Regions from separate parts of the Homo sapiens genome. Here region 2 is linked to region 1. Evidence: promoter capture Hi-C in 16 types of primary human blood cells and fetal thymus (Javierre and others, 2016). All regions are on one chromosome and are shown on one strand. Each heading gives the region's core, a stretch centred on a gene start or on the middle of the fragment in contact. The rest is flanking DNA. Distances are from core to core; before and after follow the strand shown. Region 1 holds the start of ZNF471 (zinc finger protein 471). Region 2 overlaps ZNF350-AS1 (ZNF350 antisense RNA 1).

Region 1 (4,760 bases), core at 1,483-3,982:
CACAGTCACATTTCCATTGCCTGAGGACATGAATATAAGCACACGTGGTGATTCACCAACACCTTCACACATACCCCCAATCTTACTTCTCTCACACACACAGCTCACTGTCCCTTATCTCTGTCTCACTCACACATGCATGCTTCACAACCTCACAGAGGTTATATTTGTAAAGCCTTTTGGATAACACACCATGGTTCACATAGTTTCTTTCTCACCCATTTTGGTCTCTCACACAACCACATCACTAGTCTTTCTCTCCCTCTTTCACACATATAAACATGATGGTCTCTCATACATACACATTCAATGGTATCTTTCAAAGAGGCCTCAGTTACTCAAATGCTCCAGTGTCTCACACAGATACACAAACACACTCTGATCTCTCATATTCCAACTGCTTTATCTCATGCACACAAAATACATACTGGTCACTCTCACTCCAATCTTTTTCATACTGTGATACACCCTCTCACAACCTACCAGTCCAGACAGAGACATACTCTAGTCTCTCACATACCCATTGGTCTCTCACACACTCACACCAACATACCCCAGTCTCTCCCAATCACTGAACTCTCAGTCTAGTCTCTTGCTTTTACTCAGACACACACATGATCTTTCTCAGACTCCAGGGAGCCTCATACTTGTTCATCTTTCACACAGGCACATCTATTTCTCTCACACATTGATATACCCTGGTCTCACACTCTGGATTCTCACAATCCAGTCCCTGATAACACACTCAGGTGACAAAGAGGAAAAACAAACTGTTTCTCCTACTCCACTCACACAACACAAAACAGTTCTAAGACCAGATGTGTGGGGATCTACACACACACACACACACACACACACACACACACACACACCAGGCAAGCAATAAGTTCTTCAGTGAATACCAGGTGGGTGACCTCTAGGGCAACCCAGTGAATACCAGGTGGGTGACCTCTAGGGCAACCCAATTCTGACACTATCTACCTGGAGACAGCATAAGATCCCACAGGTTGAGGGCTCAGCCCTACAAAATTGCTCCCCACTTCCAATGCCAGTTGCAAACCCCAGGTTGTTTTACTTGTGCTTCTGACTAGCTATAAATCGGGGTTCCTATGACCCCCTCCTTGCGTTCAATTAATTTGCTAGGGCAGCTCACAGAACTTAGGGAAACACGTTTGTAGTAATAAAGGATATTACAAAGGATGCAGGTGAAGAAATGCATAGGACAAGGTTATATAGGAAGGGGCTCATCCTACAGGAACCTCCAGTGTTCAGCTATCTGGAAGTTTGATGAACCCAGTCCTTTTGGGTTTTTATGGAAGCTTCATAATGTAGGCATGACTGGTTAAATCACTGACCACTGATGATCAGTTTAACCTGTGGCTCCCTTTCCTTTCCCTGGAGATTGAGGGATGGGGCAGGTAATCCCAACCCTCTAATCCTGCCTAGATTGTTCTTGTGACCATCCCTTACCGTGATCAACCTACAGGCTGCCAGCCCACCAATCATTAGCATGCAAAAAGACACTTAATACTTTGGAGATTCCAAGGATCTTAGAAGTCGTAAGCCAGGAAACATAACTTTGTCCTATACTTTGATCGCCTCCCTCTCTCTCACAAACTCATAACAACATAACCTAGTCTCACTCTTTGGACTCTCACAGTTTAGTCTCTTTCTCTCTCTCATACACACACACCAGCCTCTCAAGGAGCCTCACATAATGACTGGTCTTTCACACACAGCCACGTGCTCATCTCTCTCACACTCACTGGTCTCACGCTATGTTGTCTCTCACACACGAACACACCCTGGTCTCACACTCTGGTCTCTCTCAGTCTGTCAGACACACATAACACGGCCTCACACACTGACGGGTCTTTCACCCAAAACACCCATTTCTCACACTCACTGGTCTCCCTTTCACACATTAACATACCACAGTCTCACACTCTGTTCTTGCACAGTCTAGTCTCGCATACATGGTGATTCTTCTCTCTCTCGAACACACACCGGCCTCTCATTGAGCCTCACCCACCGACCGACCGGCCTTTCACACACAGGCACACGCCCATCTCTCACACTCACTGGTCTCTCACACTCCATCCAGCCCGTCTCACTCTCTCACACGAATACATCCTGGTCTCACGCTCTGGACACCTGGTCTGTTACACACTTACACACCCACACACCTCGCAACCTCTCACTGAGCTTCACACGCTCTCTTTCAAATGCAGGCACATCCCTATCTCTCTCACACTCACTGGTCTCTCACACTGGCCCGTCTCGCTCTGTCACACACGAACATACCCTGGTCTCACACTGGACTCTCGGTCTGTCACACACACACACACACACACACAGAAACCACACCCTCTCACGGAGCCTCACACTCTGACAGATCTTTTACACACAGGCACACCCCCATCTCTCCCACAGCTCACTCCAGTGGTCCCGCCGCCCCAAGCCGCCCCGAACGCCCAGCAGCCCCGAGCCGCGGCCTCCGCCCCGCAGACTCGAGTACGCGCGCCCCGCTGGCCTCTGGGAAATGTAGTCGTCCTGGGGACAGAGGACGCGGCTGGGCCTTCGCGACCCGCGTCGGAGCCGCCCGCCTCGCCTGCCCTTCCTGGCCCAGCCCTCGAGCTCGGACTCCCAAACCACCCAAAACAAACCCCCGGCCTCGTCTGGCACCCAGACGCTCTCATCCGAAGGACTCCGTGAGTCGACGCTGGAACCCCCCATCGCGCAGGCGCCAGCCTCTCTCCAGGGGTCGGACGAGAGGGGCGGAGACAAGGCGTGGCCTAGTGTTGAGGGGATTGTCCTCGGGCTGCTGAAGGAGTGAGAGGGACCTTAGAGCAGAGCGGGCGGTGCCTGCGCAGTGCGTGATTACGCGAGCCGGGCGTGGCCCAGGGTTCCGGCGGGTAAGAGCAGGAGTGTGCGCAGGCGCAAAGATTGCGCTCTCCCCCTCTCCTCGCCTAGAGACCAGAAGCGTCCCTAGTTACTAGTTCCTGGGGCCTGGGAGGGAAACGCGCGACGGCTGAGCCTTCGGTGTGAGTACGCGTGGGGCTTTGTGACGCTGTCTGTGCCTCTGTGATCGCGATGTCATTCGGAGCGCGGCCTTCTGTGCCAGTCCGTGGGAGTGTCATTATCTTTCTGTGTTAAGCTTATTTTGGAATAAGACAGCGACGAGGAACCCCGACCGTGTTGTGACTCTGGCGAATTAATACCTCTTTCAGCTGCAAATGGGAATGTCACTGATCAGAGGCAGTGAATAACACGACGTTTTTGGAACCAATCTGCTAGGCTTGAACCGCGTTCAGCCCCTTAACAAAATGGAAATGGTCCCCGTTTTAGGGGACTAGCCCTGACTAGGAGAACTGTAGAATTAGTATTGGAAGGTGAGACAAATAAGGAAAAGCAATTCAGGGGGATACAGCAGAGAAAAAAAAATCCCTGTCCTCTTATTATGTAATTTACTTTGAAGCGGAGAGAGACAAGCCACAAATTCATGAGTTAGATAAACAGTCTGATGAACAGTAAAAAGGGCTATGGAGAAATATAACTCAGAGAAGGTTGTATCGTATACATTTTTTCTATTGTCTCTTATAATGTCTTAACATGTCAAAAAAACCTGTCTGCAGCAGACACCAGCCAGGTGACCGCTACTCCAATTCAATTCTGACGCTACCTGGAAAACATCAGATCCTACAGGTTAGACAGCTCAGTCCCAAAAGACTGTCCCCCACTTCCCATGCCAATTCCAAACTCCAGATTGTTGTACCTGTGTTTCAGAGAGATGTGCTATAAATTGGGGCTCCCACAGCCGGCTCCTTGGGTTCCATTAGTTTGCTAGAGCAGCTCACAGAACTCAAGGAAACACTTATGTTTACTGGTTTATTATAAAAGATATTTTAAAGGATACAAATAGCCAGATGAAGAGACATGTAGGGCAAGGTCCGAGAGAATCCCTAGTGCAGGAACTTCTGTGCCCGTGGAGTTGGGGTGCACCACCCTCCCAGCACGAGGATGTGTTTTTGTCTACCTTCTTGGAAGCCGCTTGAACTCAGGCCTTTTCGGTTTTCAAGGTTTCATTATGTAGATGTGATTGATTAAATCATTGGCCACTGGCGATCAACTTAATTTTCAGGCTCTCTCTTTTCCCAGAAGTAGAGGGTGGAGCTGTGAGTTCCAGTCCTCTGAGCACATGGCTGGTTCCTCTGGCAACTAGCCACCACTCCCCCCAAATATTGGGATTATCTTGAGAGTTTCCAAAAATCACCTCATTAACATAAACTCATGTGTGGTTGAAATACTGTCTTTCACCTTTATGGCTCTGGAGCTGTTCTGGAGCTTTTTCAGGAACCAGGAACAAAAGGCCAGATATTTTAACAAAAGATACTTTATTGCTGCAGTCATTTAGGAAATTAAAAGAGCTGTAGGAACTGAGAGCCATGAACTGTACCTTTCTTTCTAACTCCACATTCAGTGATGTCATATTGGTAGATTGAAATCCACCACAAGGGGACTATTTACAGTATGGAAATACAGTCTACATCGCTAAAGGATGGAGATACATTCTGAGAAATGGGTTCTTAGGCAATTTCCTAAGAACCTTGTTGTGCAAACATCATAGAGTGTACTTACACAAACCTAGATTGTGTAGCCTACTACACACCCACACTCACTCAGACTGGGACAACTTAGACATACCAGTTAACTTACTGTGCACATCTTTGGGATGTGGGAGGAATCTGGAGTACCCAGAG
Region 2 (4,760 bases), core at 1,025-3,524, 4.6 Mb after region 1:
CCTGGAAGCACTTCTAAATTCACTCCATACTCAGAAATATTTAGTTAGCAGGCTGGTCCCTTTAGAAGTCCTACTTCTTTCTTCACCTCATATGAAACTGCCCCTAAATTTGAATGAAATGCCTCGTGATTGCATAATCTTTTTTTTTTTTTTTTTTTTTTTTGAGACAGGGTCTGGCTCTATTGCCCAGGCTGGACTGCAGTGGTGTGATTTTGGCTCACTGCAACCTCCGCCTCCTGGGCTCAAGCCATCCTCCCACCTCAGCCTCTGAGTAGCAGGGACTATAGGTGCCTGCCACCACCCCTGACTAATTTTTGTATTTTAAGTAGAGATGGGGTTTCACCATGTTGCCCAGGCTGGTCTTGAACTTCTGAGTTCAAGGAATCTACCCACCTTGGCCTCCCAAAGTGCTAGAATTACAGGCATGAGCCAGCATGCCAGCCTGGAAGCACTTCTAAATTCACTTCATGCTCAGAATTACTTAGTTAGCAAGCTAGTCCCTTTAGAAGTCTTACTTCTTTCTGGACCTCATATGACAATGTCTACATGTAATAACCTAAATTCTGCTACTCTTCTCCCCCTAAATTTGGATGAAATGCCTCATGATTGCATAACCTTAACTGGTCAGCTTTTCTCTCCTAGGACAAACCTGCAAGAAACTCATCTTAGTAACACTGGTGTGGTTTGATTTACAGACAGATCTTACTTAAAGATTAATCTCAAATTTACAAGCAGGTTATGTTATAATATCCCAAGGGAAAAAATAGAAAGTGCTTATCTTCTAGAAGCAATCTCTGCTGAACAAGCCAAATTGACAGCACTAATTAGAGCTTGTCAGTTGGCAAAATGAACAACTGCTAATTTATATACAGGCAACAGATATACCTTTGAAGTCATTCGTGACTTTGTAATACTGTGAAAATAAATAAAGAGGGTCTTGAACCTCTTCCGGCCAGTCCATAAAAAATGGATACCTTATCTCTTTATTATTAAAAAAACATTATTATAAAACTCACTACCTATTATTAAAATCCAAATCAGATACTCCAAAAAATTCCAAATCAGATACTCCAGAAAGTGAAGGAAGTCAGCTAGCTCATAAGGTTACAATGAGGACTGCCTAAATACATCTAGGCAATAAAAACAATTCATATTAACTTTGAAAGAAGCCCCCAAATTTGACATAAATTAACCCAATCCAGAGCTCTAAAAACAGAATTAGAAAATATAAAACAAAAAGGTGAAATATGGTGTGGACTAAACAACTTGCCTATACTTCCTACTGAATTACAATCATCATTTTCAACCCTACGGACTGATTTAATTCACCGGAGCCCTGATAAAGTGGTTATTGAGAAAAATAGTATTTTGAAAAGTTTCTTCAACTATAGCTCATAAAGCATTTAGTTGCTGCCATATTTGCCCAAAATATAATCCAGGGAAACCTTTACATAGTTCCTAAGAACATTTTTCTTTACCTGAGGCCCCCTTTGAGGTGTGGCAGATTTTATTCGACTACCCCATCACAAGGATACAAGTATGTTCTAGTAATGAAAGTCTGTATAGTTTCATTGGGTAGAAGCATTTCCATGCAGAAGAGCAACAGCCCTAACATTAAGTAAAATTCTCCTTGAAAAATTATTTAGACTTGAGGAGTCTCTCTAGAACTTCATAGGGGCAGAGGTACTCATTTCACTGCCCATGTAATTCAGTCACTACGTAAAATATGGCCAATTCTTTAACACTTCCATTCTGCATATCCCCCTCAGTCATCTGCATTAGTAGAATGCATAAACAAAATAATTAAAATTCAATTGGCAAAATTAACCCAGGCTTTTCACATGTCTTGGCCAAGGGCCCTTCCACTGGTTTTCCTTAACCTAAAATCCACCCCTTTTGGTAGACATCAGTTTTCCCTAATTGAGATAATAACAGGTAGATGCATGAAACTATCCCCAGGAAAGTATAAATCCATAATGCTAAAAGAAGACATATTAAATTTTTCTGACATCTTTATAAAACAACTACCTAAAAATCATAATTTGAAAAAAGACTCTTTTTATAGTGAACTCCCAGGAAACAAAGAACTTAAAACCCATGAACTTCAGCCAGGAGATTTTTTTCTACTGGAAATGATATCTAAAATGATATTTGGTTAAAGGACTCCCTTTAACCAAACTGGAAAGCGCTCTATTAGTTACTTTTTACTAATCCTTGCACTAAAATGTAGAAGGCATAGACGTGTGGATTCACATGTCTTATGTAAAGAAAGTTGAGCCTAAAAGAAAATAGTCTGTATATTGGGGGCGTCTAAAAGTTATTAGGACTTGAGGAAAGTTGACTTTGGAGACTGAGTCATAGAGCTTGACCTCTTAATTACTAACACTTTATTACAGATTAATTTCCTTCCATGTTTCCTAGATCCCAGGCCAGATGTCCCCGATATATAAGACCCTTTCACTGAAATAAAATATTCATTGACTGAGATAAAAGACTTTTTGACTATTATATACATAATGTAAAATGTTAAATATATCTTTCAAAAAAAAAGTCTCTTGACTCAAGCAAAATACTTAGGAGCAAACCTTAATTCCTCACTTTCTTCGTCCCCTTGTTTTGAACTCATCGGTGAGCCTTGTCTTCCTCCATTATATATCCTCCTTTCTAAGAAATATGTAAAGGTGGCATGAGTCTTGGTTTAAAAGGAATAAGGTGGTCCCTTAGGCCCCTTTTGTGATGCCAACCAAGACATAATTGTAGAATTATAGAAGATGCTATTAGTTACATGACAAGGGATCAGTGTATTAGGGACAATGAAATGGGAAAAATTCAGATCTGACATCTGTGTAGGTACTACATGCCAAATGTGACTGAAGGTGACAGACAACACATGTGGGCACCAGCAGTAGCACCCATTCAGTAACACATCTTATCCTATTCAGAAGCACATCTGCTTCTGGAGAGGTCTACATGGTTCATTGGCCTGTTGCAAACTTTCCAAATGATCATTGTTTCTCATCTTTCCCTCTTTCTTTAGAAGCACAGGAGAATGTGCCCACAGTGAGGCTAAAGGTTGGACACTGAGAATAAGTTTCTCTCTAAATGTGAGATTGGTGCTTTGGGAAAATTAGTTTGATGATACAGAATGAAGAAAAGGGATGCATTTTATTTTTATTTTTATTTTTTTTTATTGTTCATTCTTGGGTGTTTCTCGCAGAGGGGGATTTGGCAGGGTCATAGGACAATAGTGGAGGGAAGGTCAGCAGATAAACAAGTGAACAAAGGTCTCTGGTTTTCCTAGGCAGAGGACCCTGCGGCCTTCTGCAGTGTTTGTGTCCCTGGGTACTTGAGATTAGGGAGTGGTGATGACTCTTAACGAGCATGCTGCCTTCAAGCATCTGTTCAACAAAGCACATCTTGCACCGCCCTTAATCCATTTAACCCTGAGTGGACACAGCACATGTTTCAGAGAGCACAGGGTTGGGGGTAAGGTCACAGATCAACAGGATAAGAATTTTTCTTAGTACAGAGCAAAATGAAAAGTCTCCCATGTCTACCTCTTTCTACACAGACACCGCAACCATCCGATTTCTCAATCTTTTCCCCACCTTTCCCCCCTTTCTATTCCACAAAACCGCCATTGTCATCATGGCCCGTTCTCAATGAGCTGTTAGGTACACCTCCCAGACGGGGTGGTGGCCGGGCAGAGGGGCTCCTCACTTCCCAGTAGGGGCGGCCAGGCAGAGGCGCCCCTCACCTCCCGGACGGGGCGGCTGGCCGGGCGGGGGGCTGACCCCCCCACCTCCCTCCCGGACGGGGCGGCTGGCCGGGCGGGGGGCTGACCCCCCCACCTCCCTCCCGGATGGGGCGGCTGGCCGGGCAGAGGGGCTCCTCACTTCCCAGTAGGGGCGGCTGGGCAGAGGCGCCCCTCATCTCCCGGACGGGGCGGCTGGCCGGGCGGGGGGCTGACCCCCCCACCTCCCTAAGGGATGCATTTTAAAAACAGGATGACCATCTAAGAGTGTCACAGATACGTTGAAGTCGAAATCTGACATTCTGACTTGCCTCTCCCAAGATATTTGTTTAAAACAAGTGTGTCTGCTTATTTCCCTGATTGGATATAGGCAGTGTGTGTTTTCTCTCATAATTTGCAGCTACCTCATTTTTTAGTTTCCTTGTGTTTTTATTTTGTTTTCCCCAGCCAGAATGTAAGGTGGTGGTTCACGCCTGTAATCCCAGCACTTTAGGAGGCTGAGGCGGGTGGATCACCTGAGGTCTGGAGTTCGAGACCAACCTGGCCAACATGGTGAAGCCCCATCTCTACTAAAAATACAAAAAATTAGCTGGGCATGGTGGTGGGCGCCTGTAATCCCAGCTACTAGGGAGGCTGGGGTGGGAGAATTGCTTGAACCCAGGAGGTGGAGGTTGCAGTGAGCTGAGATCACACCATTGCACTCTAGCCTGGGTGAAAGAGCAAGATTCCATCTCAAAAGATATATATATATAATTTATATATTTATTTATATATGAAACTCTGGCTGTTCCTTATTATTGCATCATTGCTGTCACTGGGTGAAAGATAAGACTACCCATAGGCTAGAAAAATACAAAAGAAACCTACCCTCTACCATGCTACCTCAATTACTAACACAAAATCCACTCGGCCTGGCAATAAAAGTTAATGTTGCTATGATTACCCCACTTATCCACATTTCTATTCTACTACTTCCCCTACAGACACCTTCTAACATTGGCTTTCA

What was found. Contacts are between HindIII fragments. The CHiCAGO score rates a contact against its expected background, and 5 or more counts as called.
Region 2: a fragment that was not itself captured here is called in contact with the fragment with the promoter of ZNF471 in region 1 in 1 of 17 cell types (total B cells); the score reaches 5.1 in total B cells.

What each region holds. Positions count from the first base shown.
Region 1 is chr19:56,505,827-56,510,586 of GRCh38, reverse strand. ZNF471 (zinc finger protein 471) reads right to left here and starts at 2,732. Exons shown (of 5, transcript NM_020813.4): 1 at 2,667-2,732. The HindIII fragment of the contact is 1,838 bases long and covers 1,322-3,159 here.
Region 2 is chr19:51,952,064-51,956,823 of GRCh38, reverse strand. The region is part of intron 1 of ZNF350-AS1 (ZNF350 antisense RNA 1); the gene reads right to left. Among named protein-coding and RNA genes, the nearest start is that of ZNF350-AS1, 5.3 kb to the right of the region's middle. The HindIII fragment of the contact is 5,571 bases long and covers 1-4,760 here.